Linked DNA regions of Homo sapiens: region 1 is linked to region 2. The links are contacts of gene promoters, found by promoter capture Hi-C in human tissues and cell types (Jung and others, 2019). All regions are on one chromosome and are shown on one strand. The core of a region is centred on a gene start or on the middle of the fragment in contact, and the rest is flanking DNA. Distances in the headings are between cores, read along the strand shown. Region 1 overlaps EIF2B3 (eukaryotic translation initiation factor 2B subunit gamma). Region 2 holds the start of BEST4 (bestrophin 4).

Region 1 (5,811 bases), core at 490-2,989, 120 kb after region 2:
AGAGGGTAGGAGTGGTGGTAGTAAGGGACTAGAAAGATTTGAGGCTGAAATAAGGAAACAGGATTCTGGGTAAAGATGGCAGATTAAACATAAGCGTTAACCCATCCTCTTTCTGAAAACTCACTGAAGTGTCAGTACAGATTTTTTTTTTTTTTAAAGACATAAACCCACAAGGACAAAGACCACAAGAAGAGATGACAACAAAATTTTGGAAGCTGGAAAACAAAAGGATGGTGGTGGTAACAGATTTAGCATATCCAAGAAAGGTGAATCCTAAACCATCTATAAGGAAAGCTAAGAAGCAGCTTGATTTGTATCTCAGGAGCCCTGAAATGATCAGGAATTGGCAGCACAGCTTTTACCCACCCAGGCAGGAGATTGGAAGATTTTTCTCTGAAGTCTATATGGCCAGCTCCAAAGCAAAGACTTAAAGATATTGACATGGGTTATCTTACAGCCATATCATTTTATAGAAGTAAATTAAAAGTACAAAAGAGTAAGAATACACTGGACAAGATACCTTGGGAAAGGTTTGTGATCCTAACTTCCACAAGCCCTTCTTCCCTTCTGTACCTGCCCCCATCCCAAACTGCAAATTAAGAGAGGTATTTTGGGAATTAGGGCTGGTTAGGAGCAGCAGAGGTACTAACTTACATAAATAGTATTTCAAGACTCCCACACCATTGGGAAAATAATCAAGGGTTTAAACCATTTCTCATCATCTGTAGTCCCAGAAATACAGATCTGGCCATGATCTTTGAGGTCTTGACTGAAGTCCTTGACTCCCCAGATATAGATGTCTAAACCTTCCAAGATGACCTTGTGAACATTTTATTCCATTTTAAAGATATCCTTTAGGAGCTTGTTTTAATATTTTCATTACTCTTCCAGTAAAAAAGCTTGACAACTATTCAAAAGAAAACAATGTAACATTGGGGAAAAGCTACATGATTTTCTTATTAAATATTTGGCACAAATATCTTTTACTTATGAACTATTAAAAACATATGTCTGTCAGAAATAAAGCAGGAATTTTAGAGCTGGAGGGGGGTTTCTTTAAAGACCAACTAAGCCAATTTCAGCTGGGGGAAACTGAGGCTTAGAAAAATAAAGTTATTTGCTCAAGGTCACACAGCTGGTTTGTCTCCAGACTAGACTGCAAATTCTCTGAACCTGAATTTTCAGTAACAAGCTCCTTCTACCAGAACATTCTTTCCTACTACATGTAATGCCTCTCCAAGTCAGAAATGCAACAATCAGACATGTAGGAAAGGTGTTGTGCTTTGTTTAAATCCAACAAGGTCATAAGAATCTGGGCCCTTTGAGGTAAAGTTACTAGTACTGACTGATGACTAGCTTGCTGGGGAGGCTGCCTCTGCACCTGACCATATTCTAACAGGTGTCTTTGAAATCAAGCAAACATTTTATCCCTCCCCACCCCCCCAAGTAATGCTTTTTTTTTTTTTTTTTTTTTTTTTTAAAAGAGAGAAATGGGTCTTGCTATGTTGCCCAGGCTGGTCTGAAACTTCTGGGCTCAAGCAATCCTTCCACCTCAGCCTCCTAAAGTGCTGGGATTACAGGTGTGAGCCACCACACCCAGCCTCTCTCTCAGAAAGAGAAAACTGATGGGATGTACATTCTGTCATTGTCCTTTTCTCTCTCTCTTTCTTTTTTAAATTTTTTTTCCATAGGTTTTGGGGGAACAGGTGGTATTTGGTTACATGAGTAAGTTCTTCAGTGGTAATCTGAGATTTTGGCGCACCCATCTCCTGAGCAGTATAGACTGAACCCAATTTACAAAAGTTAAAAAAACTTTACAAGAAGTTTCTGATTTTCCTATATACATGAAGGCCGTATCCAAGATAACTGGTGTTTGCTCACTAGGAGCTAACCTCCATCTTTGGAAATTCAGCGTTTTAAAAAAGATAAAAACAGAAGGAAGTACTGTATTCTCATAATCAGAAAGTGCTTGAAAATCTGAATCTAATTAGCTTTTAACCAGCATCTCACTTGAGGCAGGAGGAGCACAACACCCCAGAGGGTCATAGGAATGAGAGAATATTTTTATGCATATTTATCCAGCCTGCAACCCTTTTATAACTACACACCAAAGATCCTGAATCACTGGGGTGTGGATTATAAATCAGAAGAACAAGGAAAAAAATCTGCCAACAACTAAAAATGCAGCCTAGTCTTAGGAAACTGATAGAAGATCTGCTCTCAATGACCCCAGTGCTTAGTCAAGGCCCTGAGCTTGACATCTATGAAGGAAAAAGACACATCCACCTGCTCTTCATTATCACCTCACCTCTGACTAGGTCCATCTTCTTTGCTCCCATCATGCCCAAGCCTTGCTCTCATTGTCAAATGTAATTACAATTAAGGCAGTTACTAACACTCCATTGTATGGAGCCATAAACTAGTTCCCACAGAGGTTAAAAAGAAAACAGAAAACAACCTCCACCCACCCTTTAGTTGTAACCAGAGAAACGTATGAGTCTTGCTTTTTTGTTTGTTTGTTTTGTTTTGTTTTGTTTTTTTATTATACTTTAAGTTTTAGGGTACATGTGCACAATGTGCAGGTTAGTTACATATGTATACATGTGCCATGCTGGTGCGCTGCACCCACTAACTCGTCATCTAGCATTAGGTATATCTCCCAATGCTATCCCTCCCCCCTCCCCCAACCCACAACAGTCCCCAGAGTGTGATGTTCCCCTTCCTGTGTCCATGTGTTCTCATTGTTCAATTCCCACCTATGAGTGAGAACATGCGGTGTTTGGTTTTTTGTTCTTGCGATAGTTTACTGAGAATGATGATTTCCAATTTCATCCATGTCCCTACAAAGGACATGAACTCATCATTTTTTATGGCTGCATAGTATTCCATGGTGTATATGTGCCACATTTTCTTAATCCAGTCTATCATTGTTGGACATTTGGGTTGGTTCCAAGTCTTTGCTATTGTGAATAGTGCTTTTAAGAACTTAATGTCTAGGGCTGCTATCTCTAATACAGAACAAAGCATAAACATCAGTGCTTGATGGATGCATGTGAGTCAGGACCCTCATTTCACATAATAATTGCTAATCACAATTAGTTTTCCTTTCTGTATTCCAAAGGACAGAATTCCTTGAGAGTCTTGAATTTAGCAATCCAACACTGTGATACTTTTCAAGTCTTATATACCTTAAATCTATCCTACATACTTCTGTCAGATTATTTTTTTTCAGAATCCTATATTTGAATAATCATTTCCTTCCTCAAAAGTTTTTAATAATTCCCTGGTATTCAAGGCTCTCTATTTTTAGACCAACTTAACATCTCAGCCTTATCTCCTCAAGTTTCCCAACATGAACCTTCCATTCAGGTCAAACTGTCCTTCCCCACCTTTGCTCGTGGCATTCTCGGCATATAGGATTCAGCTGGCTTCCCATGTCCCTTTCCATATCCGGACCAAATCAATCCTTCAAGTCTGAATTATTCTATTCTGTTTCCCTGACCACCTCAGCGCCTAGGATTAGATACCTCCTTTGAATTCTTAGAACACTGTCTGTTGGACATAACTGTTCAGTATCTGATATCCCTTGCTATTGTTTGTTAACCTTTTCCATGCATAATTGAATCTTCCACCAAGGCTGATGAGCTATTTGAGATAAAGTCCCCTGCCTCAAGGAAAAAGTCTTCTGCCTTAAATACCAAAACAGTGGTTTGACCAGATTTGAAGGATGTGTTCCTGAAAGTAGAATGTCCTCATGAATAAGGACTAGTTCTGTCCCTAACTAGATACATTGAACAAAACCCCTTCTTCCTTGCTTTCAGAATCATTGCCTGAAATATAGAAGACTAGACTAACTAAATGACCTTCCAGCTGTGGCAGTTCGTAATTCTAGAAATATTACATTGGTGCAAAAGCAATTGCGGTTTTTGTTAAAAAAAAAAAAAAAAAAAAAAAAAGGCAAAAACCGCAACTACTTTTGCACCAACCTAATAGCTACAAATAAGATCATATTTTTTAATACATTAAGAGATATTGTTTAATTGCATCTTGTGGCGAGCTTTTCTGAAATACAAAAAAACTCCCTCTGCTTCCTACGTTTTTATTTTGATAAATGGATTTAGGAAAAAAAAATCCAAAACAAAACCCTTACTTCTTTCTTCGCAGAATTCCAGAGCTAGTCAGCTATATCCTGACCACTGTAAGAAACAAGCTGTGCTCACAAGGCTCTGTCACAGATATTCTTTATGGAGAAAAAAAAGAATCCGAGTGGGGTCAGCAAACTACAGCCTGCCAGTTAGATGGCCCTGTTGCCTGTTTTAATGGAAAAAAAAAAAAAATCTTGTACAGATAGGGTCTCACTCTGTCACCCAGGCTAGAGTTCAGTGGCATGAAAAAAGTTCACTGTAGCCTCAAACTCCTGAGTGCAAGGGATCTTCCCGTCTCCGCCTCCCAAGTAGCTGGGACTACAGGCACGCGTCACCATGCCCAGGTATTTCTTCAAAAACTGAGATGGGGGTCACAGGATGTTGCCCAGGCTGGTCTCAAACTCCTGGCCTCAAGTGATCCTCTTGCCTCTGTCTCCCAAAGTGGACATTAGAGGTGTGAGCCACCGCACCCAGCCTTACTTGCTTTTAAAACTTTTTAAATTGGGAATTTTTTTTTTTTTAGATGGAGTTTCACTCTTGTTGTCCAAGCTGGAGTGCAATGGCACAATCTCGGCTCACTGCAACCTCCGCCTCCCGGGTTCAAGTGATTCTGCAGCCTCAGCCTCCCAAGTAGCTGGGACTACAGGCACGCGTCAACATGCCCAGGTAATTTTTTCAAAAACTTTTTGTAGAGATGTAGTCTCAGGATGTTGCCCAGGCTGGTCTCAAACTCCTGGCCTCAAGTTATTCTCTTGCCTTGGTCTCTCAAAGTGGACATTAGTGGTGTGAGCCACCGCACCCAGCCTTACTTGCTTTTAAAACTTTTTAAATTGGGAATTTTTTTTTTTTTTTTTGAGGCAGAGTTCCACTCTTGTTGCCCAAGCTGGAATGCAATGGCGTGATCTTGGCTCACTGCAACCTCCGCCTCCCAGGTTCAAGTGATTCTCCTGCCTCAGCCTCCCAAGTAGCTGGGATTACAGGTGTGCGCCACCATGCCTGGGTAATTTTTTGTATTTTTAGTAGAAATGGGTTTCACTGTGTTAGCCAGGCTGGTCTCAAATTCCTTACCTCAGGTGATCCGTCCACCTCGGCCTCTCAAAGTGTTGGGATTATAGGCGTGAGCCACTGTGCCCAGCCAGAAAATTTTTTAAAATACAGAAAAGTACAAAGAAAAAAATAATAATCATCAATACTTCCACATTCCAGAATTGTTACTATCTCAGCATAAATGTTGTTTTTAAAAAAGAAACATCACATTTATTTTATGAAAAAAGATGTACTTATTTTACAGAATTCAAGGATTTTAGAGAATTACTAAGAGTTTAAAAAATTCTCCTTCCTTCCTTCCTTCCTTTCTTCCCTCCCTCCCTTCCTTCCTTTTTTGAGACGGAGTCTCGCTCTGTCACCCAGGCCGGAGTGCAGTAGCACGGTCTTGGCTCACTGCTAGCTCCGCCACCCTGTTTCACGACATTCTCCTGCCTCAGCCTCCCAAGTGGCTGGGACTACAAGTTCCCGCCACCACGCCCAGCTAATTTTTTGTATTTTTAGTAGAGATGCGGTTTCAACCGTGTTAGCCAGGATGGTCTCGAACTCCTGACCTTGTGATCCGCCCACTTCGGCCTCCCAAAGTGCTGGGATTACAGGTGTGAGCCACCATGCCCCGCCC
Region 2 (5,551 bases), core at 1,124-3,623:
AAGATGGGGTGCTTGAATCCCAGCTCTGCTAACTAGCTGTGTAACTTAGGCAAATTTCTTTTCTACTCTGTGCCTCAGTTTCCACATCTGTGCAAGGAGGATGATAGTACCTATGTCAAGAGTTGCTGTAAGGGATGAATGAGTTAACATGGGTACAGGGCTTCCAAAAGGCTGGGGTACACAGCTGATGCCATACAACTGTTAGGTATTAAAATTATTATTCATCTTTAAAATTAGAGGGAGGAGGGCAGATGGGTCTGGTCCTGAGCCCACTCACTTCCAAAAGTAGACAGAGAGCGATATCGTCACGTATTCGCCCGTCCCTCCGGGCCTGGGCCGCCAGGTTGGTGAACCAGACGCAGGGGACCCAGTACTTGTTGAAGTCGGATTTCAGGCTCTCAAACTTTTTCCTCTCTTCCTGGGACATGAAACCTGAGGGGGTAAAGCAGGTGGGGTGCAGTTGCACCCTCTGCCGCCAGGGGAGGCTGCTGTTCCGCCGTCTGGCTCCCCTCCCTCGCGTCCACCGGCTGTCCCAGGACTCGCGGTTCCGCGTTCCTGTCGCAGTCCAGACCCTTCCCTGGAGGCCCCTGCTCCCAGGACTCTCCCAGGCGCCACCTGCATCCGGCTGTGGGCCGGACCCCCAGAGGCTCCCGGCGGGCGGCGCACCTGCGTCCACCACGTGCTCCATGGTGGGGAAGCGCTTAAGCACGCGGGTGCTGACCGAGCGCAGCACCAGCACGGACGCCAGGTTCGCGTAGCGGATGAGGGTGCGGCGCAGCAGGCGGCCCCGCTGGTCCACGCCGTGCACGCTAGCCGAGATGACGCACATCAGCTGGTCTGGCAGCGGGATGCTTGTGTACTGGGACCACCAGCGGTTCACCACGAGAGTCACATAGAAACCTGCTTGGCCGCCGTGATAGAGGGAGTAGGAAGGGAGAGTGGAGAGCCTGGGGGTCGGAGCGCCTCACCTCCCCCAGCAAAGGGCCTGGTCCAGGCCAGTTGAATCGTGGCAGGGGGAAGGAAACATTCAGCTCCAGTGCCCTGCTGTGCGAGGCCAGGAGGAGGGAGGAGGGCAAACTTCCTTCAGCAGAGGGAAAGTGGGGATTCAAAGCCAGGAGACTGCTTCCCAGGAGGGTGGGGAAGGGGTTGTCACCTCTGTCCAGCTCCCCTGCAGTGCCCAGGGTGGGCTTGTGAGGCCAGCAGGTGTCTTGTGCCTTGCTGGAAGTGAGGGTCCGGCAAGTGATAGGGCCCTGCCCTCTGGAAGTCCTGGACCCAGCACCCAGCTCCTGTGCCTGCTGGGCCTGCTCTGGCTGACCAGGAAGGCTCTGCCACCGTGTTGAGTAATTCTTTTTTTTTTTTTTTTTTTTTTTAGCAGAGTCTCGCTACATTGCCCAGGCTGGACTGGAACTCCTGGGCTCAAGCGATCCTCTCACCTCAGCCTCTCGAGTAGCTGAGACTGCAGGTGTGTCACCACACCATCTGTTGGGTAATTCTGACCCTCGGAGCTGTCAACCCAACCCAGAGGTCAGGGAACACAGTAAGGGGGACACAGGGAAAACTAGAAGGGAGCCTTACCCAATACAAAGGACAAGGGAATGAGGTCTGCTGAGCGGTTGCAGTACCGGGCCACCTGAGCATACACGTACCTCTGCTCCTGGGTCAGCAGCAGCCTGGGGAAGGCAGGTGTAGGCTTGGGTTAGAGGGAGGTGGGTGGCCCAGTCTCCCCACTTGCGCCAGCTCTAAGACCCTGCCCTTACCGGTAGGTGATGCTAAGCACAGCGTACAAGGCCCCAAAGAGGAGGAATTCCTTGTAGAGGAGCTTGTAGATGCTTCCCCTCCAGCGGAGAAGCAGGCCAGAGAAACCTCCGAAGCGGGCCTCCGCCACTTTGAGAGTGTATGAAACCGTCATGGTGCTGGGAGCCTGGGGCAGGAGGTCACAAGAGTTGCCCCCAGGGCTGTCGTTTAGTTCTCCAGACAACCTCCCTTCCACTCTGGTCTCACACACCCCAGCCTTCACCCTGCGTCAGTGGACAAGGGGGTAGGAGCCTGCAGAGCAGAAAAGTACACCCCACCCCCTGCAGAACTGAGCAGTACATGGGCAAAGCCAGGCTAGAGTTGGACAAGGTAGAACTGAGATCTGTGTCCCTTCATGCATGAGGTTTCCTCAAGCTCCTCTTCAGCCTGCAGGGCTAGGGATAACCAGATCCTGAACTGCTGCGGACAAGAGACGCAGCTCCAGCCCAAATCCACTGCTATTCCTTGGGGCCTTGCTTTGGAAGCTGATTAACTAGAACTACCAGGGCCCAGGGCACTCTCACCCCCATCCCATACCTGCCTACCTGCTCTGGGCAGCAGCCCGTGTGGAAGATGAACTGGGCTAGACTTCAACCCCCACAGACTTAAGTACCTCTGCAGTCCATAAAGTTAGGCTGGACTGAGGCCTATCATTGATGGATTGAAGCTGTCATCCAGCTTCCCCTGGTGCTGGGAACTGGGTGTGTCTCCTTACCCCTGTAGGGTTGGGCTGGCCTTCGAGTGGCAGAAATGCCAGCTATACTGACCCCACAGCTCACACAGACGACACCATGTCCTTCAAGCCAGTATGACAGGGGTTATTGTCCCACGTTTCAGGTGGGAAGACAGATGCATGATAAACTGTTATAATAATACCAGCTGCTGATCACAGAGCACTGACTAAGTGACAGGAACCATGCCAAGGGCACTACTAGGTCATCCTCTCAAGAAATCCTCATCACAGCACCATGAGGTAGGGAATCAATCATCCACATTTCACAGATGAGGCTCCAAGAGGTAAATGACTTGCCCGCCGTCGGCCATACAGCTAGAACATGTTGGAGGCAGGATTCAAAGCCAGGGCTGATGGACTTCCAAGGCTGGAAGTGGCCTAGCAAAGGCATGAGCTCCAGGACCCATCCTGTGCACTGGCCACACTCCCAGTCTTCTTGTACAGGGGCTTGGGGGCTTGGCCAGGCTCTTCTCCATCCATGCCACGGGGCTGACAGCCACAGATCTGGAAGCTCAGGCCTAGGAGTGCAGGCTCCGTTAAGCCCTGTGTCCAACATCCTGACTCCTAGGGGTGCCCAAGATTTGAGTGGCCACTTTCACCTCTGGAGGAAGTAATACCTAAGGCGCTGATAGAAATAGAACTTCCGCTGCCAGGCAAGGTGGCTCACACCTGTAATCCTAGCACTTTGGGCAGCCTCAACGCAGGTGGATCACTTGAGGTCAGGAGTTCGAGACTAGCCTGGCCCAACATGGTGAAACCCTGTCTCTACTAAAAATACAAAAATTAGCCGGGTGTGGTGGCACGAACTTGTAATCCCAGCAGGTACATGGGAGGCTGAGGCAGGAGAATTGCTTGAACCTGGGGAGGCGCAGGTTGCAACGAGTTGAGATCGTGCCACTGCACTCTAGCCTGGGTAATCAAAAAAAAAAAAAAAAGAAAAGAAAGAAAGAAAAAGAAAAAGAAAAAGAAATAGAATCTCAATGGGAGAATCGCTTGAACCCGGGAGGGAGAGGTTGCAGTGAGCTGAGATTGTGCCACTGCACTTCAGCTTGGGTGACAGAGACTCTGTCTCAAAAAAAAAAAAAAAAAAAAAGGCCAGGCACTGTGACTCACGCCTGTAATCCCAGCACTTTGGGAGGCCGAGGCAGGCGGATCACCTGAGGTCGGGAGTTCGAGATCAGCCTGACCAACATGGAGAAACCCCATCTCTACTAAAAATACAAAATTAGCTGAGCATGGTGGCACATGCCTGTAATCCCAGCTACTCCGGAGGCTGAGACAGAAGAATCGCTTGAACCTGGGAGGTGGAGATTGCGGTGAGCCGAGATCATGCCATTGCACTCCAGCCTGGACAACAAGAGCAAAACTTTGTCTCAAAAAAGAAAAAGAAAAAGAAAAAAGAAAAGAAAAGAAATAGAACCTCAAAGTGGAAGAGAATTGGCAGCTTACTTACCCTCCCAGTGCTGAGGTAAGTGAACACTGAAAAATCCCAAGAGTGGTGGTCCTGCCTCTGTCTTGTTTTGGGAAGCTCCTCCCCCTACACTGTGAGCTGGTTCTCTTCTGCAAGTTTCCTAAAGATAGGAAGCATAGAGAGGTGATTAGGAGCACAGGCTTGGGAATTGGACAAACCTGGGTCTGAACCCCAGCTCTTTGTAACTGTGCAAGTTACCTAATCTCTCTGAACCTCAGTTTCCTCCTCTGCAAATCAGAATCAAGAACGCCTAACCTCATGGGGCAATTTTGAGTATTCACAGAAACAATGCCTATGGCCTAAAGCACTGTGGGTGGTTGGCTTGGGCTGCTGTTACTATGAAAATTTGAATCTGTTCTCTTTGGTTTCCCACGACTGGTCCAGTCTTGCCTACCAAGCCTTCCAAGCCAGACAGTCCCTGAGAAATGAGGAGGCAGAGACCTTTTCTTCATGTCCTGCTAACCTGCCCCAGACCAAACAGTGCTGGATCCTGGCTTTTAAGCTGAATACACAAGGCCCTCTGAGACTTACCCACCTCTACCCTCATCACCAGTCTCTGCCTAGCTCATATAAAATTTTTTTTTAATTTTAATTTTTGTGAGTGCATAGTAGGTGTATATGCCTAGCTCATTTGTAACTGTTCCTTCAAGATGTGGCTCAGAGCACCCTCTAGGAAGCCTTCCATGATCTTCCCCAGGTTACTCCTCAAAACCCTCTGGGTTTTCTCTCTTGCAGCAGTTAATCACAGTGGTCTATGATCTGTTTACAGGGAGATCTCCCCTCTAGCCTGTGAGACACCTGAGAACAGTTTTGAATCTGATTCATCTAGGTAAAGCTAGATTACAGTGGCTCATGCCTGTAATCCTGACACTTTGGGAGGCTGAGGTGGGAGGATCACTTAAGCCCAGGAGTTTGAGACCAGCCTGGGCGACATAGTGAGACCTGTCTCTACAAAAAATTTTTTTAAATTAGCTGGGTGTGGTGGTGTGTGCCTATAGTCCAGGTACTTGGGAGGCTGAGGTGGGAGGATCACTTGAGCCCAGGAGTTTGAGGCTGCAGTGAGCCATGATACAGCCATTGCACTCCAGCTTGGGTGACAGAGTGAGACCCTGTCTCAAAACAAAAACAAAAACAAAAAAAGAAAAAGAAAAAGCTGGGGAGGACTTGAAACCAAGCAAGCTTCTTTTTCTTTCTTTCTTCTCATCCTTCCCTCCTTCTTGCCTCCCTCCACCCCCTCTTTTGTTCTCCATTTCTCTCTTCCCTTTTAAGATGAAAGACATCTGGTCCCCCACCCCACCCCTGCTATTTTGTGAGATTTCCCAGATGAGCCAAGATCTGGAAAACTACTCATGGCCTGACTGGCGTTACATTCTCCATGGGAGATGTCAATATGAGGAAAGAACAGGACTCAGAGAGAGAGAGAGAGAGAGAGAGAGTATGTGTGTGTGTGTGTGTGTGTCTGTGTGTGTCCAGGACCTGACCTGGGGAGGGTGAGATGCCAGCTCCTGGGCCTCAGGCATCATGGCCAGGCAGTTCATTCTCATGCTCTGATC

Evidence for each region. Contacts are between HindIII fragments. The study calls those that stand out against the background at their distance.
Region 1: a fragment that was not itself captured here is called in contact with the fragment with the promoter of BEST4 in region 2 in 2 of the 25 tissues and cell types used here (IMR-90 fibroblasts and liver).

Annotation. Positions count from the first base shown.
Region 1 is chr1:44,909,179-44,914,989 of GRCh38, forward strand. All of the region lies in intron 5 of EIF2B3 (eukaryotic translation initiation factor 2B subunit gamma), which reads right to left. Among named protein-coding and RNA genes, the nearest start is that of PTCH2, 69 kb to the left of the region's middle. The HindIII fragment of the contact is 5,381 bases long and covers 1-4,430 here.
Region 2 is chr1:44,785,797-44,791,347 of GRCh38, forward strand. It overlaps BEST4 (bestrophin 4), which reads right to left and starts at 2,374. Exons shown (of 9, transcript NM_153274.3): 1 at 1,758-2,374; 2 at 1,576-1,670; 3 at 667-900; 4 at 278-432. The coding sequence starts at 1,909. RefSeq lists enhancers at 231-916, 826-915, 917-1,602 and a silencer at 576-705. The HindIII fragment of the contact is 9,775 bases long and covers 1-5,551 here.